3 separate regions of the Homo sapiens genome follow, and all the other regions are linked to region 2. Evidence: promoter capture Hi-C in human tissues and cell types (Jung and others, 2019). All regions are on one chromosome and are shown on one strand. The core of a region is centred on a gene start or on the middle of the fragment in contact, and the rest is flanking DNA. Distances in the headings are between cores, read along the strand shown. Region 1 overlaps CFAP418-AS1 (CFAP418 antisense RNA 1). Region 2 holds the start of GDF6 (growth differentiation factor 6). Region 3 overlaps CFAP418-AS1 (CFAP418 antisense RNA 1).

Evidence for each region. Contacts are between HindIII fragments. The study calls those that stand out against the background at their distance.
Region 1: a fragment that was not itself captured here is called in contact with the fragment with the promoter of GDF6 in region 2 in 1 of the 25 tissues and cell types used here (mesenchymal stem cells).
Region 3: a contact is called between a fragment that was not itself captured here and the fragment with the promoter of GDF6 in region 2, in 1 of the 25 tissues and cell types used here (lymphoblastoid cells).

The regions. Positions count from the first base shown.
Region 1 is chr8:95,751,275-95,754,914 of GRCh38, forward strand. All of the region lies in intron 3 of CFAP418-AS1 (CFAP418 antisense RNA 1), which reads left to right. Among named protein-coding and RNA genes, the nearest start is that of GDF6, 410 kb to the right of the region's middle. The HindIII fragment of the contact is 3,378 bases long and covers 1-3,099 here.
Region 2 is chr8:96,159,163-96,162,520 of GRCh38, forward strand. GDF6 (growth differentiation factor 6) reads right to left here and starts at 1,644. Exons shown (of 2, transcript NM_001001557.4): 1 at 1,125-1,644. The coding sequence starts at 1,530. The HindIII fragment of the contact is 22,921 bases long and covers 1-3,358 here.
Region 3 is chr8:95,657,806-95,661,118 of GRCh38, forward strand. The region is part of intron 3 of CFAP418-AS1 (CFAP418 antisense RNA 1); the gene reads left to right. Among named protein-coding and RNA genes, the nearest start is that of TRS-AGA2-5, 390 kb to the left of the region's middle. The HindIII fragment of the contact is 4,595 bases long and covers 1-3,313 here.

The sequences.
Region 1 (3,640 bases), core at 161-2,660, 410 kb before region 2:
TATTGTATCTATTATCATTGATGGGTGAAGTCATAGGGCAGGTTGCATAGGTAAAGGACAGACAAAATGTGACAAAATGGCTTACGAAAATCAGAAACAACCTTGAACTAATGACAAAGAGAAACAAGACAGAAAATTGTTCCCAATATCAGAGGAAATATAAGACTAAACCTGCAGCCTACTCATCAGAGGGAAAGAAAATGTTGGAGAAAAAGTCATGGAGGAAAGAGTACCTAGGCTGGCCAAGTGTGGTGGCTCACGCCTGTAATCCCAGCATTTTGGGAGGCCAAAGTAGAAGGATCACTTGAGTCCAGGAGTTCAAGACCAGCCCGGGCAATATAGTGAGATGTCATCTCCACAAAAAATAAAAAATTATCTGGGCGTCATGGTGCATGCCTGTAGTCCCAAGCTACTCAGGAGGCTGAGGCAGAAGAATTGCTTAAGCACGTGAGGTTGAGACTGCGGTGAGCAGTGATTGTGCCACTCCACTCAGCTTGGACAACAGAGTGAGACCTTGTCTCTAAGAAAGACAGAAAGAAAGAAAAGAAAAAAAAGAAAAGAGTACCTAGGCAGTGTTTGTGTCCAAGATTTGTGTCTAAAGAGCCGGTAATTACTTCCTTGAACAGGACAGTGCAATGAAACCAATGTTGTTGCCTGTTTCCATCAGTTCATCTGTCCCATGGTGATGTTTGTCAATATCTCTGAGGGGACTCTGCCTGCACAGTGTTTGTTAAATGCAGAGAATTAAGAATACATGCGTAAGCAAGAGAACTTGGTTAGGATTCCAAGCGCATTCCAACTATGGAGACTAGTCAGTGTCGATTTTGTGAGCCACAAAGGATGCTTTGTTGCCGGCCACTGGACACAGTGGGGCCCAGCTGAGGGAAATCTTTGGGGGCCTAAAATCCAGGATGTACTCTGATTGCTGAGCCGTGAGCCCCAGCACAGGCCTGAGTTCGCCTGAAAGAAGGCGCCTCTTCACTAACTGGCCTGCCCAGAGGGGGCGTCTTTCTGCAAGGGTCCCTCCCAGAGGGACCGTCTTTTTCTAATTAGCACAGAGGCCCATCAGCGCTTGCAGCAGCCCCTATGTGCAGGGCTGGGAGGTTTTTAAACCAACTGCAAGATAAGTTGGTTTTCAGGAAGAGAAGAGATTAATGGGGCCACAGAAAGATGGATGGGAGCTTGGCGCTGCCTCTGCCGCCCCTCACACACGCTGTGGCTAGCAGTGAGGCCAAGGGGAATGACCCTGAGTAGAGTTACATATTTTTCACACCTCCTACTAAAACTCAGCAAATGCTTGACTCGCTGTTCCCAGCACAATTTTTCTTCCTGCAAAACGTGTTGGGATTATCGCTTTTAGCCGCATGTGTGCTGGAAGTATTTTGTAGGGGCCCCAGGGGCTGCAACTGTTCAAATCCCTATCCTTGAGAGGGAGCTTGGGGAGGCAGGGACCCAAAGTGCCTGTCCGAGAGCTCCCCCATAGAGGGCTGGCTCCCACTAATTAAGTCCAGTTTCCAAGACTGAATCAAAGCTGCCATCCCAATGATTTTAAGAGTCAGGAGGTAAAATACAAGTTTCAACCCCAACACCTTCCCCTTATCCATCTTCTTGAGCCATTTCAGGACATTGGGTAACATATGATTTTTCTTTAGTCAATTCGAGATATTATCTGCTGAAATAGCTCTACTGGTATGAGAGGGAGGTTTCAAAATATGTAACAGATGCACAGCTGCCACCTGAGATGATGCATTATGAAGTCGAAACTGTCATCACCTCCCCCACCACCCCTACCCTCACCCCAAGCACATATTTGTTCATGTGGTTTACACCTGCGAGATTGTGGGATGCAAGAGAGGAATCTGATTACTGTTTGGGAGACAACCCCATCTCTAAAACCGATCCATGTATCTTTGTTTCCCTGGAGAAGCTTGAAATCTCTTACCAACTCTTCTTGTGGTCTAGCTGAGTTAAAGCTCCAGTCCAAGTTTTCTGGAATTTGGTACCAATAACTAACTCTTGAGGCCATCATACAATAAGCCTTATGATATCTCTCCATCTCAGTCTCTCCATTTGTATCTTGCCAGGAGGGCAGAGCAATTTTTCAGTGCCTTCATAAGTAGGTGCTCTTGTGTACTCTGGCTAAAAGGGAAATGGAAAACTCCTGGCCCATGCTCATCTGAGGCAAATGATGATTTTGTTTCACTGTATTTAGAGGGAGGGTTCCTGCCACTGTCTGATAAAAAACACCATCTAAGTAAGTAAGTACCAGCAATGAAAAACTCCTGAGAAGACAAAGAGAAGCAGAAGGGTATTCCAAGAAGTTGCCATGGACAGGTAAGAGAGACATAATGAATGTCTGATTAGAGAGGGCCCTTCTGCAACAATACAAATTGAAAGAATTTCTGCTCACCAAGACCCTTGCACAGTTTTTAATTATATGTTGATATGTTAACTTGATTAATATTGATTTACTCCACTAGATTTTAAACTTCATGAAAGCAGAGAATCTGTTTTGCTCCTCATTGTATTGCTTATGTCCAGAATAGTACCCAGCACATAGTAGGTGCTCAACAAATATTTTTTGAATGACAGAATACCCCCAGAATACAAGCTGTACATCTGAATAATTGATCTCTAGGACAAACTTCCCATTCTCTATGGAGGGAACTCTGCCTGCAGATGTGAATGTGAGGCAAACTTAGTCGTATTAATTCAAGCCTTTTTTTTTTCTTTTTTTGAGTCAGTGTCTCTCTCAGTCACCCAGGCTGGAGTACAGTGGCACAAGCTTGGCTCACTGCAACCTTTGCCTCCTGAGTTCAAGCGATTCTCCTGCCTCAGCCTCCCGATTAGGTGGGATTACAGGCTCATGTCACCATGACAGGCTAATTTTTGTATATTTAGTAGAGATGGGGTTTCACCATGTTGGCCAGGCTGGTCTCAAACTAATCAGGAGCTCAAACTAAGTGTTTGAATGGGAATGTCAATAAACACAGGGGTCAGAAGTCAAACCAGAAGTTTGACTTAGATGCTTAATTATTAAGGCAATGAAGATAAATGTCTCAGCATCACAAATGTATTGAACACTCATCCACCTACCAGAGGGAGTTCCACCCAGCCATAAGCTATTTCAAAGACTTGGATCCCAAAGGAGAGAGCAAGAAATTGATGTATTTATCACAAACCCTGGACAGAGGGATGAGATTTTAATTGATGCTTTGCTTTGTCCTTTTGGTTCTCTATTCTGACTGCCTAGTGATGAAAGATCCTTAGTTTTGGTCTGTTGAGGAAAGCCTCTCACTCTAATAGTAATAATGATCAGAGCATCAGAAATGTGGACTGCTCGAAGCAGCACTTTGGACCACATTCCTCAGTTTTGGGGGCTTTTAGTTGACTAGCCCTCTTCTTGCTTCCAAGCTTGCAAAACTGCTGGTAGCCAAAGTGAAAAAGCGGAACCTCACATTATTTGCTTAGTGAGCACATTGGGCGGTGTGTCTTCACTCAGACTATTTCTGCCTTCCACCCCCAACAAAACGTTGGAAGGCGCAACACGTTGCTAATACCTCCATTGCATAGCAAACATCTCCATCCCTCATCTCGTGCACACATATCAACACACCCCACTGCAAATAACTAAACAACT
Region 2 (3,358 bases), core at 394-2,893:
GGAGGAGTGGATATCTGCCTAAATCGCTTTTATCCCGTCATTTTCTTCCTTCCTTCTCTTTACTCTTCCTTTCCTTTTTCTCCCTTCCTTTCCTGTCTCCTTCCACATTATTGTCTCTCTCCTTTAGGAGCTTAGTTTCCGATGCCTGTGGATCCTTCCCTGATTTCTGGGACCAGAGGTGGTGCGAGGTTTTCTTGAGGGCACTGGCCACGCTGCAGATCAACGCCGGTGGCAAGAAGGGGCCGCAAGGGTTTCCGCAGACACCCACACATGCAGGCGTTCCCACAGAGGGTACCAGGGATTTCCCAGACCCCCACCAGCCCTCAGGAATAGCGTAGAGAGAGGAACGTCGCCTGGCTGAGAAAGGTGGATGGGCATACCCATGTACCTTTGTGTATTAAGTACCCACAACCTCCGAACTTAGCCGTCCCTGTCCCGGCCCGCCCAACTGCTGCCGCCGCATCTGCAGAAACCACTCGTGTTGAGGCCTCGGAGCAGCCGGGAGCACCACGCTGGAGCAAAAAAGCCGGAGGGCGCAGGGCTCCAGCCCGGCTGACCATCCCACCCAGCGCAGGGACCAACGGAAAACCCGCGCGGCGCCAGGACCAGGGGGCTGCCCGACGCCGCTCGCGGACTAGTTCCTCAGACTGTGGGACTCCCTAGTGCCGGCTTTGCCCAGGGCTTTCCAAGGCTGTCTCATGCCCTAGATCTGCCCCAGCAGCTCAGGCCTTGGACTGCGAACCCAGTATCCCGAGACACCGATTCCATCAGTCCCCATCCCGACCCCTCTCCAGCCGGGTTCATCCGCCTGCTGCCTCCCGTCCTCCACGTTTCCCCCACCAGCCACCAACAAGCGGCAACCACGCTGCCTTCTGCAAAAGAGGAAGAAGGAAAGAAGGGAGAGAGAAAGAAAGGGGGGGAAAGGAAGGGAGGTTTAGAGACTGGAATAGAATCCGCAGCCACATTCAGAAACTTACTCGAGCTTGAGAAAAACAATTTAAGAAAAGTAAAAAGGAAGTGTCCAGAGCAGGAAGGGAATTCACAAATGTAGCCTCCAGCGGGAACAGCTCCCTGGCTGCCGAGCTCCAGCGGGAGGGGAGTCGAGCGTTTTCTTTGCCACTTACCTAGTCCCCTGTCTACAAAGCTGGTGATCGTATTAGCCGACTTGGAAGACTGGAAAAAGCTGGCATTGATGCCCAGCTTCTCAGCGATGGAGTAAGTCCTGTAGATTGACAGCATGTACTCGTGGGGCACCACGCGCGGACCCCTGCCTGGCGGCTCCTGCGCCCGGGGCTGCTGAGCCCGGGGTTCGTCCTGAGGCCGCGGCTGTGGTTCCTGGCCCTCCCGGCCCGCGTCACTGTCGCGCGGCGCCCGCTGCATCTTGCCTTCCTTGCGGCTTCGCATGCCCTTGGTGGAACCCAGCTCGGCGGACGACGAGGAGGATGAGATGGAAGCCTGCTGGAAACCGGGCAAATCCCACAGAAAACTGATGAGGAAGACGGCCGAGAGCAGGACCCTGGGAGTATCCATGGCGGGCAAGTGGCTGCGTCTCCCCAGGAGGCGGTGGCGGCGGCGCAGGACGCGCGGGGCACGGAGCGGCTGGACAGCGGCCGGGGCCCGGCTCCTCGGGCGGACTCGGAGTGCGAGGAGCCGGGTCCCAGCCACACAAACCCCGGCCCCGCCACGCCCCCTCCCGCCCCTCGCCGGGAGGGGAGGAATGGGGAGGGAGGGCAGAGGAGGGGTGGGGAGGGTGGGAGGAGAGCCGGGTGGTGCGGGCCGGAGGTGTGGGGGAGAGGGGCCGCGGTGCGCCGGTGTGGCAGGAAGACGCAGCGCCCCCGCGGGACGCGCGCGGGGTTGCCGGGCGGTGCGCGCGGCGCGGGCCGCAAGCGCTGACCGGGGGAAGGCGGGCGCTGCCGGCCCGTGGCCGGGGAGCAAAGGCTGGCCCGCCGCGCCAGGGTCCCCCTCGAACTCCCGGAGGTGTGGTCCCTCCGCAGCGCGGCCCCGGCTCTCGGTCCTCGCCAGCCGCCTCCACTTTCCTGGGAGCGAGCGGCCCCGGAGGAGGGAAGCGGCGGCGGCGCCCCCAAGAGACAGCTTGGAGCAGGCGCCTCTGCTGCAGGCTGCGTGCTGCCTCGGGGCGGTGGTACCCTCCCTCCTCGGCCCCAACCGCCAGGCCTGCCGTTTGCGCCCCTCAGGGGCCAGCCCGGAGCCAGAGAAGCCTCGCCCTGGGCCAGGCGCAGGGCCCAGCTCGGAACAGCCCCATTTTCTCGGTTGGGTATCGCTCTCCACAAAGACAGGCGTCTATTCCCGACCCTCGAGGTCAGGCAAAGGCCACGAGTCTTTAGAGTTTGGATCGATGCTAAAAGCTGCTGCGCTCCCCTGCAGGCCCCAGCCTCTCCTCTCGCAGTCCCCAACCTCTTCTGACGCAGACTTTAGCTGCTCCACTTCTTCGTCTGCTCCCGGGATCCTCTCCCTCTCGCGGCCTGCCCCCCGCCTCCACTGCATCCCCATTTTCCCTCTCTTCTTTCCCTCCCGCCTGCAGGACTTCCTCCTTCCCCAAGTTCCTTCTGCATTCCAATCCCTCTTCCCCAGCCTGCTTTTCTTCTCACACTGCCCTCCCATCTCACACTGCCTTCCCACCCTCTCTCTTCCCGGCCTCCCCCCTCGCCTTCCAGTGGACCCCTCCCTTTGCAGCTCTACCCCAATCTGTTTCTCTTCAGCCCAGCCTCGCCCCATCACGAGTTTCCTTTATCTGTCCCCAGATTCCCCGTGCCTGTCTTCCCCGCCCACTGCCTCGCTCATTCCTGGGCCTGCACGCTGAAAGGCGATGCGGCGTAGCGCTGCTTCTGTCTGCCACAGTGCTCTGCCCTGGACTGCTATGGGCAGAAGAGTTTCCCTCAGTACTGATTGGGTGCTCAGGCACCAACCATAAAGTACCCTCCTTTAATCGTGCCAACAGCTTTGTGAGGTTGGCGTTGACTATTTTCACCTTCACGGATGGAAAAAAAAAAGACTCAATGGAAATAAGTGACTTTTCCAAGGCCACTCTGCCAAGAGGTTATGCAGCAAGGGACAGAACCCAGGCTCCCACCCCAAGCCCAAGATTCTTCCCACTACAGCATAGACAGTCATTCCTGGCCCAACTTCTCTATTTCAGTTCTGGCTTTTTTCTTCTCTTTATGGTTTCACTTGATCTCAGGTGGCTTCTTTCTCCGCCATGCTACTTTCTGTGTGTGTTCCCAGTCTCTCCAATCTCCTCCCTCTCACTTTCTAACCCCTTCTTCCTTTTGCTTTTTCATCACCTCTTCTGTCCTGCAGGGACCACTCACATGACAGCCTGCAGGGGGAGGGAGTTTTGCTG
Region 3 (3,313 bases), core at 271-2,770, 500 kb before region 2:
TGGGATCCATACTCCAAACCTCAATATCACTCACTATTCTCATGTAACAAATCTGCACATGTACCTCCTATATCTAAAATAAAAGTTGAAATTTAAAAAAAAATCTACGAGACAGGTGGGGAAATTAAAACAGATTTGTAGGCCAGAAGATCTGACATTTATCAAAGGTGAACTTAAATGTTTCTAGTGGTCAGAGCAAAACAAATAATAATTACCTGTTTCCTATATATGCCCATAAAGAAAATACACGTGAATTCCTTAGGGAAAGCAAAGATCATCTCCAACAGTTGTAAATCTCTTGAGTTCTAGGAACAAGTTTTTTGTTTTCTGTTTTTTAATCTTTGCATTGCCCCACAGCTCCCATGACAGTGCCATGCACTGTGCAAGGACTCAATAAATATTTGTTAGATATTTTTTTTGCAGAGATTTCGTTGACCCAGGGAATGGCCAATGTGAGAGTACCTCAACTCTGTAGACTTACAATGTCAACTCACGCAGTGTATCATCAGCTTGGAGGTTCTTGACTGACAATAGCTGATAGCTGATCCATGGCGACCCAAATACCCACTGCTTCCCCCACCTATTTAATGGTTAACTTATTTTTTTCATCTCATTGTAGTTAGTGACTTCAACATAAACTCAAAATTCCCTCCCTTTTTTTTACTGTTTATTTTTCCCAATCATAACTTTTACAAGTGTTTCAAATAATTTCTTCAAAGATTTGCACATTAATTAACAGAAGGTAGTTGTGGTGAGGTACCAAGAAGCCCCTCAAATTTACTGGACTAGATTCTTGGTTTTGTATGTCCACAAGTAAGTCTGTTGATTAGAGGCATGAAGAAGCCATGAAGAACTGATTATCATGAAGACAATGGCAGAGTAATAAGGACAGCAGCAAACTATCCTATTTGTCCAGGCTTTTTATTTTCCTGGACTGTTTTCAACGTTGTCTTTATTCTCATCTGCGAAACAGAAGAAGGGTTTGGCTCAGAAGCAGCAGCTGAGAGAATGCCTGCCATGCTGTGTCCCTGTCTCCCTGCCATGTCCTTACAGGTGGGAGTGATATACCTGGCTCCCTGCCTTGGCGCCTTTGTTCATGGCTCCCAGGAATCTACCTTTGCACCCTCCACTTTCCCTTCCTTCTCCACCCTGCCTGTGGCCCACTCTTTCAACCTGAGAACTTATCCTGGCTGCCAATAGGCAGTGCTAATGCCAGCTTAGTCTTTCTCACCCAGGTGGCTAAAGGCCAGCGTTTCAACATGAAACCTTTCCCAGATACTCATAGCACCTGAGTGCATGTAAACGTTTGTACTCTGAGTTGCTAGAATGAGAGAGCCGTCAGGTATACAGAGGTGCTACAGTGGAAAGCTTTCTTTGTCGCATGTGATTATCTCAATGAAGAAAATATGAGTGGAATCCAATGACTTCCTCTGTCATCTTCCTGCCTCTGGCATCTACCTGTTCATGTTTATGCTCAACTGCTGATTAATCTTTTCAGATGGTTTATCATATCCCTGTTCAGGAGCTACTATCTACTCTGGGAAATGTAAACACTTCATCCAGGTGTTCAAATTCCTCAGCTTTGCTAGATGAAAACACCAAGGATACGACAACTTGCAAGAGTTTTACAATCCCCAAGTTCATTCTCCTGAGAGAACAACAGGTAGAAATCCAGACAGGTGGAGTGACCTGTTCAAGGCCACACAGCTATACATAGCAAATCTGGGAACGGAGGCAAGAAGGAGGTCAAACCACTGGCCAAAGTTTATCTTCCCTAAAGCACATGTGCTTCCTTAATCGCAACTCAGTGAACAGAACATGGAAAGATACATCATTATCATTGAACTCTGTGTGCATATGTGAGAATCTAGTGGTTGGAGGTTAGAAAGCTTGGGAACATGTGTTTATGTTGACAGCATAACAAGTTGTTAAGTCTACAGACTTTGGGGTTAGGCTGTGATTGAATCTAAGCTGTCCCTTGTTAGCTATCTATATACTTGAGCAAGTTTCTTAACCTCTTTGATACTGAAAATGCTCATTGATGAGATGGAGTTATGACTTTTTTGCCAAAATGTTGTGATGATATCACTAAGGGAAATGATTATTATTAAAACTATTCTACAATGCTGACATAACATTTATGTCATTCAAAGTGATGTATTATCACCCCTCACATACCCTTTCTTTCCCAGCTTCTTGTTCTTTTCTCCTGTCTGCCTTTGGATGAACTACTCTTTTTTCTATACAGTAAATTCCTTACCTTCTCAATATATCTGCTTCACCGCCAAGGTAGCTCTATCATCTTTCTCATTTGCTTCATGATTCTGCAGAGCCTTCGTTAGCCAAAATCTTTGAAAGAGCATCATGGGAGGAAAGTGGAGAAGATATCAATCAGTAGGTGGTTTATTTGTTACCTGTAAATTATGTGATTTCAGCAGTGTATTAGTTAAGATTCTTTTAGTTTAGTGACAGCAAAATGGACCTCAACTGGCTTAAGTTTTTTTATTGTGTGAGTTTACTATTTCTGCTGTAACAATTTACCACAAATTTTAGTAGCTTAAAATAATCCAGATTTATTCTTATGACTCTGGAGCTCAGAAGTCTGAGATGGGTCTCATGGGGCTAAAATCAAGGTGTCAGCAGGACTGCGTTCCTTCCAAGGGCTCTAGGAGATAATTTGTCCTTCTTGCCTTTTCCAGCTTCTACATGCTTCCTGCATGCCTGGCTCATGGACCCACAATACAATGACTAAGGTGTAAAATGGGCACATAAGAGGGCCCCTAAGGATCTATTCCAGTGCTATTGCTGTTATCTACTTATAGTGTGTTGAATGGTGTACCCCCAAAATTCATGTCTACATGTAACCTCAGAACAGGATCTTATTAGTAAATAGGATCTTAACAGATGCAATTAGTTAAGATGAGGTCATACTGGACTAGGTTGGGCCCTAAATCCAATGACACGTGTTCTTATAAGAACAGATTTACATGGCCTGGGAGGGGAGATCACAGACAGAGCCATACAGGGAAGAAGGCCATGTGAACATGAAAGCAGAGAATGGAATGATGCAGCTACAAGGCAAGTAATGACAAGGTTGCTGGGAGCCACCAGAAGCTAGGAAGAGGCAAGAAATGAGTCTTCCTTAGGGCCTTCAAAGAGAGCACAGCCCTGCAGGCACCTTGATTTTGGGCTTCTACTCTTCAGAACTCTGAGAGAATAAATTTCCATTGTTTTAGGCTAACCAGTTTGTGGTAATTTGTTTTGGCAGTCTTGGGAAACTAACACACCTCTCTGTCTATGCCAAACCAGCTAT